Linked DNA regions of Homo sapiens: region 1 is linked to region 2. Evidence: promoter capture Hi-C in human tissues and cell types (Jung and others, 2019). All regions are on one chromosome and are shown on one strand. The core of a region is centred on a gene start or on the middle of the fragment in contact, and the rest is flanking DNA. Distances in the headings are between cores, read along the strand shown. Region 1 holds the start of GSDMA (gasdermin A). Region 2 holds the start of CDK12 (cyclin dependent kinase 12).

Region 1 (3,708 bases), core at 90-2,589, 500 kb before region 2:
CCCTCCTTGACCTCCCAAAGTACTGTGATTACAGGTGTGAGCCTCTGTGCCCAGCCAGGATCCAGGCATTTTGATGCTCTTCACCTTTGCCCCCTCTGCTTACAATACCCGCTTCCGGATCTGAAGACTCCCTAGTCCTCCGCTAATGCTCAATTCAGGTCACCTCCTGGAACCTCTTCCCTCAGTCCTCCAGGCAGCTGGTGACTGTATCTGTGTTTCCAAAGCGCTCTTCTGATGCACCTTCCTTTGTTATGATCTGTTCACCTGACCCTATCAGCAACTCGTCTGTGACTTCCCAGAGGGCAGGAAATGGGTCTTAGTCACCTCTGCAGCAGCAAGTACCACACCTGGCACAGAGTTCGAGCTTGGCAAATGTGTGTGGAAAGAACCAATGAATGTGGCCCTGAGAGATGTGCGCTAGGATGAGAGGGCCCTGGAGAATGTGGGGCCCATGGGAACCTGAGAGGCAACATTTTTTTTTTCTTTTTGAGATGGAGTTTCATTCTTGTTGCCCAGGCTGGAGTGCAATGGCATGATCTCGGCTCACTGCAACCTCCATCTCCTGGGTTCAAGTGATTCTCCTGCCTCAGTCTCCCAGGTAGCTGGGATTACAGGCGCCTGCCACCATGCCCAGCTAATTTTTGTGTTTTTAGTAGAGACGGTGTTTCACCATGTTGGCCAGGCTGGTCTTGAACTCCTGACCTCAGGTGATCCGCCCATCTCACCCTCCCAAAGTGCTGGGATTACAGGTGTGAGCCACCGCACCTGACCTGAGGGTCAACATCTTAAGTCTCTGTCTTTGAAGTTTGAGTCCAGGTGCTCTGGCTGGGTGGCCGATCGGCACACCCCAGTTATCCCCGTGGGTGGAAGAGGCCACACCAGCTGGCTTGGAAGCATCCCACATCCACCACAGGCACTTCACAGCAGCAGGGGGGGCAGGAAGCACGGCACAGATGCGTGGGGCTGTTCTGCCAGCTTCAAGGTGCTTTTTTTTTTTCACCCTCATTCCTGGGAGGGCCAGGATGGGGCAGGACAACCTCCTGGTGCTACCTGGGTGCACCTGGGAAGGGCTTGGGCAACAGCAGCCTCCTCTTCACCAGAGAGATGTCCACAGGCCTGCCTCTCCCTTCCCTCCCCAAGGCCTATCGGGATACTTATCCCACTGGACTCTAGGGGAGTTCCATTCCCTTCTTGGTCCACCCATCTTCCTGTGTCCTCAGAGCACCCCTGCCTTCCCTGCTGTCATCAAGTTCTTACCTGGGAGCGGGGCTGGGTCCTATCCAGCAGCTGGGTCTGGGGTGAGGGCCTAGGGCTCACTGGGTCTGTAGGTTGAGAGGATGACCATCCCTTGCCAGGACAGGCTGCTTTATGCAGGGACAGAGGCTTCCGGGGACCCCGCCTGCCCTAGTGACCCCACCCCCCTCCCACTCCACTTCCTGGAGAACAACATCAACCTGTTCCACGTGTGCCCTGGCCTCCTGAGGGCTGAGGGGGTGGATAGGGAGCTGCCAGGCAGGTGCCAGCGTGGGTGGGGGTAGCCAAGGCTGATAGAGAGGTGGCAGCTGGAGGTTGGCTTGTGGATTGAGAGGAGAGGAAGGCAGGTGCCTTTGGGAGGGGTGCAGAGGGAGGCAGTGGGAGTGTGTGTGTGTGTGTGTGTGTGTGTGTGACCAGGGATGGCATCTCTGTTCTGTCATCATCACCGTCATTGGGGAGCATCTCGGATTCATGGTGGGGGTCTGCGGGTGTCCTGGGATAGGGATTCCTGTATGTCCACACATTCCAGTAGAGAGCAGAGCATCTGCAGTGCCGCCCTCCATCCTGGGCTTGTCAGCCTGTGTGTATTGCTGCCTTACTCCATTTGTTTTAGCTACATAGACATAACTCTGATACCGCTAGAAGCAGATGTCTGAGTAGGCAGAGATGGAGTTAGACCAAATGGGTTTGTGTTGTTTAGTGTTCAGCGTCTCTGCTTCTCACAGAATATTGTATACACACATCAGCATATCCGTAGGCAGGGGCACGGCGATATTCATGGAAAAGCCCAGGAGGCTTGTCGTGGGCTTTCAGATGTTGCACCAGAGGTCACTCAGGTCCTCCTCTTAGCTTAAATCTCTGCCTAGAAGGAATTTTAAAGGAATTTCAAATGTTGCCTACATGGTCACATTGCTAGAGGACAGAATAAGGGACTTACAAGCAAGGCCCTTACAGTGTTGGGCCATGTGGCCATGCATATGTGCAGGTATAACCTGACACAGCAGAGCCTTCCTGCTCCCACCTTGAGGCTCTTCTTAGTACCACTCATGGAAAAAGAAACGCAACCCTGAATGCTGTGAAGAGTAAATTCCATCTTTTTTTTTTTTGAGAAGGAGTCTCGCTCTGTCCTCCAGGCTGGAGTGCAGCGGTGCAATCTCAGCTCACTGCAACTTCCACCTCCCGGGTTCAAACAGTTCTCTGCCTCAGCCTCCCGAGTAGCTGGGATTACAGGCATGCACCACCATGCCTGGCTAGTTTTGTATTTTTATTAGAGACGGGGTTTCGCCATGTTGGCCAGGAGGGTCTTGATCTCCTGACCTCATGATCCGCCCGCCTCGGCCTCCCAAAGTGCTGGGATTACAGGATGAGCCACTGCGCCCGGCCAATTCCATCTTTACTGAACGTTTCCTTGAGGGGCTGATGGTGAATGAGACTAGACCATTCCACACTTAGGAAAACTCCCTAAAATAGTCATTACTCCACTTGTGTCCCCAAAGTCTCATTCAATATGACAGATGCTCCCAAATATCTCTTCTCTATGTCTTGAAACAGAACAAAGCCAAGCCTTGCCTCTGCCTCTCTGGTCCCTGCTCACTCTCTTTTTCTTTACATACTTTCCCATCCACCCTACACCTTTTTGAGACGGGGCCTCGCTCTGTCACCCAGGCTGGAGCGCAGTGGCTTGATCATGGCTCACTGCAGCCACCCAATACTTCATCCTCCTTCCACAGCTCCAGCCATTCCAGCAATCAAATGTCCCTTCTCCTTAGGAGAGGCAGAGGTGGGGGCTTGAGTGTGTGGGAAGGTTGTCGTTAGGCTGGGTGCGGTGGTTCACGGCTGTAATTCCAGCACTTTGGGAGGCAGAAGTGGGTGGATCACCTGAGGTCAGGAGTTCGAGACCAGCCTGGCCAACATGAGGGAAACACCATCTCTACCAAAACTGCAAAAATTAGCTGGGCGTGGTGGCAGGTGCCTGTAATCCCAGCTACTTGGGAGGCTGAGGCAGGAGAATCACTTGAACCCGGGAGGTGGAGGTTGCAGTGAGCCGAGATCGTGCCACTGCATGCCAGGCTGGGCGACAGAGCAAGACTCCGATTCAAAAAAAAAAAAAAGAAAAAGAAAAAAAAGGTTGTCGTTAGTCATCTGGTCCCTATCACAAGCACATATTTACATAGAAACCTGCTGTGTGTGTTATAGTCCTTTCATCTCTGTCTGTTTTCCTGGATTTCCACCTCTTCCTCCTTGTATCTCTCAGCCACTACACTGACGTGATGCCTGCATTTCAGCATATAGTCCTGAGGCTGTGCAGTCTCCTTATGCCTTAATCAGCTCCAGGGAAGATAGTCCCACTCCCACCCTCTCACCAGCCTAGCATTGCCTCGGTCAGACTTTTGGGAGTTTCTTCCCAGTGACTACCCTTCTCCCACTGGCTGCAGGCCAAGGTTCCTAGTTTAG
Region 2 (3,443 bases), core at 866-3,365:
ATGAATAAATGTACAGGTTTGGGGATTCAGTGGACAACACAAATAGGATAAACTAGGCAAGTAACTTCCATACCAATTTCTTAAGTCTTCAACCAGGTCCCATAGAGTCTAAAGCACAAATACCAATGTGATTTTTAAAAATATAAAACTAAGCAACAGAAATAGCTAGACATGCTCTGGGAACTAGTATCAACTCCATCCACTCACTAAGCAGAAGCCTTTGACGTTTCTCACTCAGAAGCTTACAACTGAAGACCCCACCACTGGAAGTACCTACCTTTGGCGGTTTGAGGCCTATGTACTCTTCACTTCTCGAATTCTGGGTTAAGGGGAGACAGATTCACACACTGGAATGACTAGCCAACAGCAAAGTGTTCTAGTCAATGATGAACACTGCGGGCTTCCAGACAATGTTAACACGCTGAATGCCAATTCCTCGCAACCCACCCTAAATGAGGAAGGACTGTTAGACAAATAGCTCACCTGGGGAGTGGACTCCGACTCAGAGACCGCTTGCTCAGGAAAGGGCTGCTGGACCGCCTTCGACCATAGGGACTGGGCGATCGCCCGCTGTAAGAGCCACTTCTTTCGTAGCTGGACGACCGTCTCCTGCTATAGGGACTGACAGATCTCTGTCGCCTACTGTAGGGGCTCGGTGACCGGGTGCTGGACTGGTAGGCCGAAGGCTCCTTGTAAGGGGGACTGACCGACTGCCTTCTCGAGGTACTTCCAGGACTTTTCTTGTAGGAGTCATAATTGCTCGAGGTATGAGATCGTGAGGGACTAAGGTCATAATCTTGGCCATAAGAAGCTCCCGAGGGGCTATCATCTTGTTTGGAGCTGTCAGACCACTTCCTGTGGGGGCTCCTGGATCTCCGTTTTGGGCTGTCCACTGTTTTGTAACTTTTGGGTGTTTCCCTTTTTCGATGACTTTTACTCCGGTCTTTGTGCCCAGACTTCAGCTCCCGTTCTTTCCTGGTCTTCTCCTTGTGGAGCTTGGATGACCTGGATTCCTTGCTGCTGCTTTTGGCTACCTGCGCCTTCCCATAGTCATCAGTCTCCTCATTCGAACGCTTTGAACTTCCCGATATCCGGTCCTTCATCGATCCCGACTTGCTGGAGACTTCTTGGCTTTTTTCTTTTTCGGTCTGTTTAGCTTTTAGTAAGTCCCGGGAACGCCTGTGCTGGTGGTGACGATGTTTGTGCAGGCGGTCGCTCCGATCTGATCCACGACGTTCGTCGTTCTCCCTTCGGTCTAGTTTGAAGGCCATGTCATCGGAGAAGGTGTCGGAATCAGAGCTGATATCATCATACTCCACCAAAGGTTTGATAACTGTGCCCAGGGATGCTGCTTCGGGGGTCACCAACCCCATGTCTTTGGAGTGTTTGGACTTATGCCGCTTGTGCTTCGATACCAAGCGGTGACGCTCTCTGCTGTTAGAGCTGCCGCCTCCCGATGACGGCTGCAAAGTTCCAGAAGCTCCTCCACTCCCGTCCTTCTTGCCCCCATGTCTCTCTGAATTGGGCATTCCCTTTCCCCTGACCTGAAGAAGGGAAAAAAGTTCCCCAGCACTCCAAAAAGCAACCCCCACCCACCCCCCCAACCCCAACTCCACGCCCACCAAAGCGCCCCGGGAAGGGGGTGGGGAGGGCAGGGACGGTAGCCCAGGCTCCTCCTCCCTCCCGACGCCTCAGCACCCTTCTACATGAGGTGGGGGGTGAAGGAGCGAGGGAAGAAATGAGAGTTCCTCGGCAGTGGAGTTGCGAGACAACGGGGAGCTGCTCAAGTCTGTTTCCTCTTCTCCCTCCGCCGAGCCAGTCCTCAGGCCCGGGCGCCGGGGAGGTCCAGGAAGTGAGAAGCCGACGGCCCGGGGCTGTGGAGCCGACTCCAGCTCTGGGGCCCTGCGAGGACTACGCGGGCCCTTCCCCTACCCGGTAGCCCGGTTCAGGACGGCTTCCTGTCGCCGGGGTGCCGCGGCCTAGGTGCCTCACGCCCCCTTTGTCCCTCGCTCCTGAGGTAGCCCCCTTTCTTGCCTCCGTTTCACCTCCACACCACACACACTCTCTCCCTCACACAGACCCAGTCACACACTAGATTAAACCGAAACGGCACTTGGGGAAGGGGGGAGGGGCAATCCCAGAAATCGTCGCGAGAGTCCAGTAGCCTCTCGCGATGTTTCGTGCTTCGCTTTCACCTCATTCCCCTGCTTATCAAACAACGCGAGATCAGGTCCCAAACTAGAAACGCGTTTCACCTGAGTCTCGCGATGAGCTCCCGGAGCTCCCCGTTTGAGCAAAGCTTTATTGAAACGGAACAAACCGAGTTTTTTTTTTTTAACCAAAACTTTATCGGTAACTGATTAAACAAACACTCCCAGGCTCCGTGACAAAATAATTTCAACATCCTTTTTAACAAATCTTTTAACTACCAGGATGACTTTTTTTTGTTTGTTTTTTGTTTTCCTTTGAGACGGAGTCTCGCTCTGTAGCCCATCCTGGAGTGTTAGTGGCGCGATCTCGGCTCACTGCAACCTCCACCTCCTGGGTTCAAGCGATTCTCCTGCCTCAGCCTCCCGAGTAGCTGGGATTACAGGCGCCCGCCACCACGCCCGGCTAACTTTTTTGTTTTTAGTAGAGACAGGGTTTCACCATGTTGGCCAGGCTGGTCTCGACCTCCTGACCTCAAGTGATCCTCCCGCCTCGGCCTCCCAAAGTGCTAGGATTACAGGCGTGAACCGCCGCGCCGGGCCATTTTTTTGTTTGTTTGAGACAAGTTCTCTCTCTTTTGCCCAGACTGGAGTGCAGTGGCACGATCTCGGCTCACTGCAGCCTCCACCTCCTGGGCTCAAGCAATCCTCCCACCTCATCCTGCCGAGTACTTGGAACTATAGAGTCGCGCCACCACGCCGTGCTAATTTGTTTCTATTATTCGTAGTGATGGGGTTTCGCCATGTTGCCCAGGCTAGTCTCGAACTCCTAGACTCAAGCAATCCGCGATCCTTGGTCTTGAACTCCTAGAATGAAGCAATCTGCCCGTCTGGTCCTCCCAAAGTGGCGGGATTACAGGCTTGAGCCACCGCGCCCGGTTGAGATTATTTTTTACAGAGCAAAAGACAAATGTCGGGACATTTCAACCCAAGTCCCTGAGTGTTTTAACAGTGCTTCCCACATATAGGGTGTGTGCTACCTGCCAAGAATTTTACATACATTATCTCTAATTTTCACAATTATCCTGCAAAACACGAGATTTTCATCCCTGTTTTATAGAAAAGGAATCCCAGCCTCAGGGAAGTTGAATAATTTGGTCCAACAAGTGCCACAGTCAACATTCAAATTCATGTCTTTCTGAGACTAAAACACAAGCTCTTCCATCCTATGGTGTTGTCTCCTTACCAATCTTTGCTTCAAATCTCAGAACCTAAAAGCTCATCCCATCTTGAGAT

The links. Contacts are between HindIII fragments. The study calls those that stand out against the background at their distance.
Region 1: a contact is called between the fragment with the promoter of GSDMA here and the fragment with the promoter of CDK12 in region 2, in 1 of the 25 tissues and cell types used here (adrenal gland).

Annotation. Positions count from the first base shown.
Region 1 is chr17:39,960,635-39,964,342 of GRCh38, reverse strand. GSDMA (gasdermin A) reads right to left here and starts at 1,339. Exons shown (of 12, transcript NM_178171.5): 1 at 1,258-1,339. The HindIII fragment of the contact is 9,331 bases long and covers 1-2,403 here.
Region 2 is chr17:39,460,158-39,463,600 of GRCh38, reverse strand. It overlaps CDK12 (cyclin dependent kinase 12), which reads right to left and starts at 2,115. Exons shown (of 14, transcript NM_016507.4): 1 at 484-2,115. The coding sequence starts at 1,529. RefSeq lists enhancers at 1,334-1,463, 489-1,688, 1,854-1,913, 2,004-2,053, 1,414-2,338. The HindIII fragment of the contact is 12,986 bases long and covers 1-3,443 here.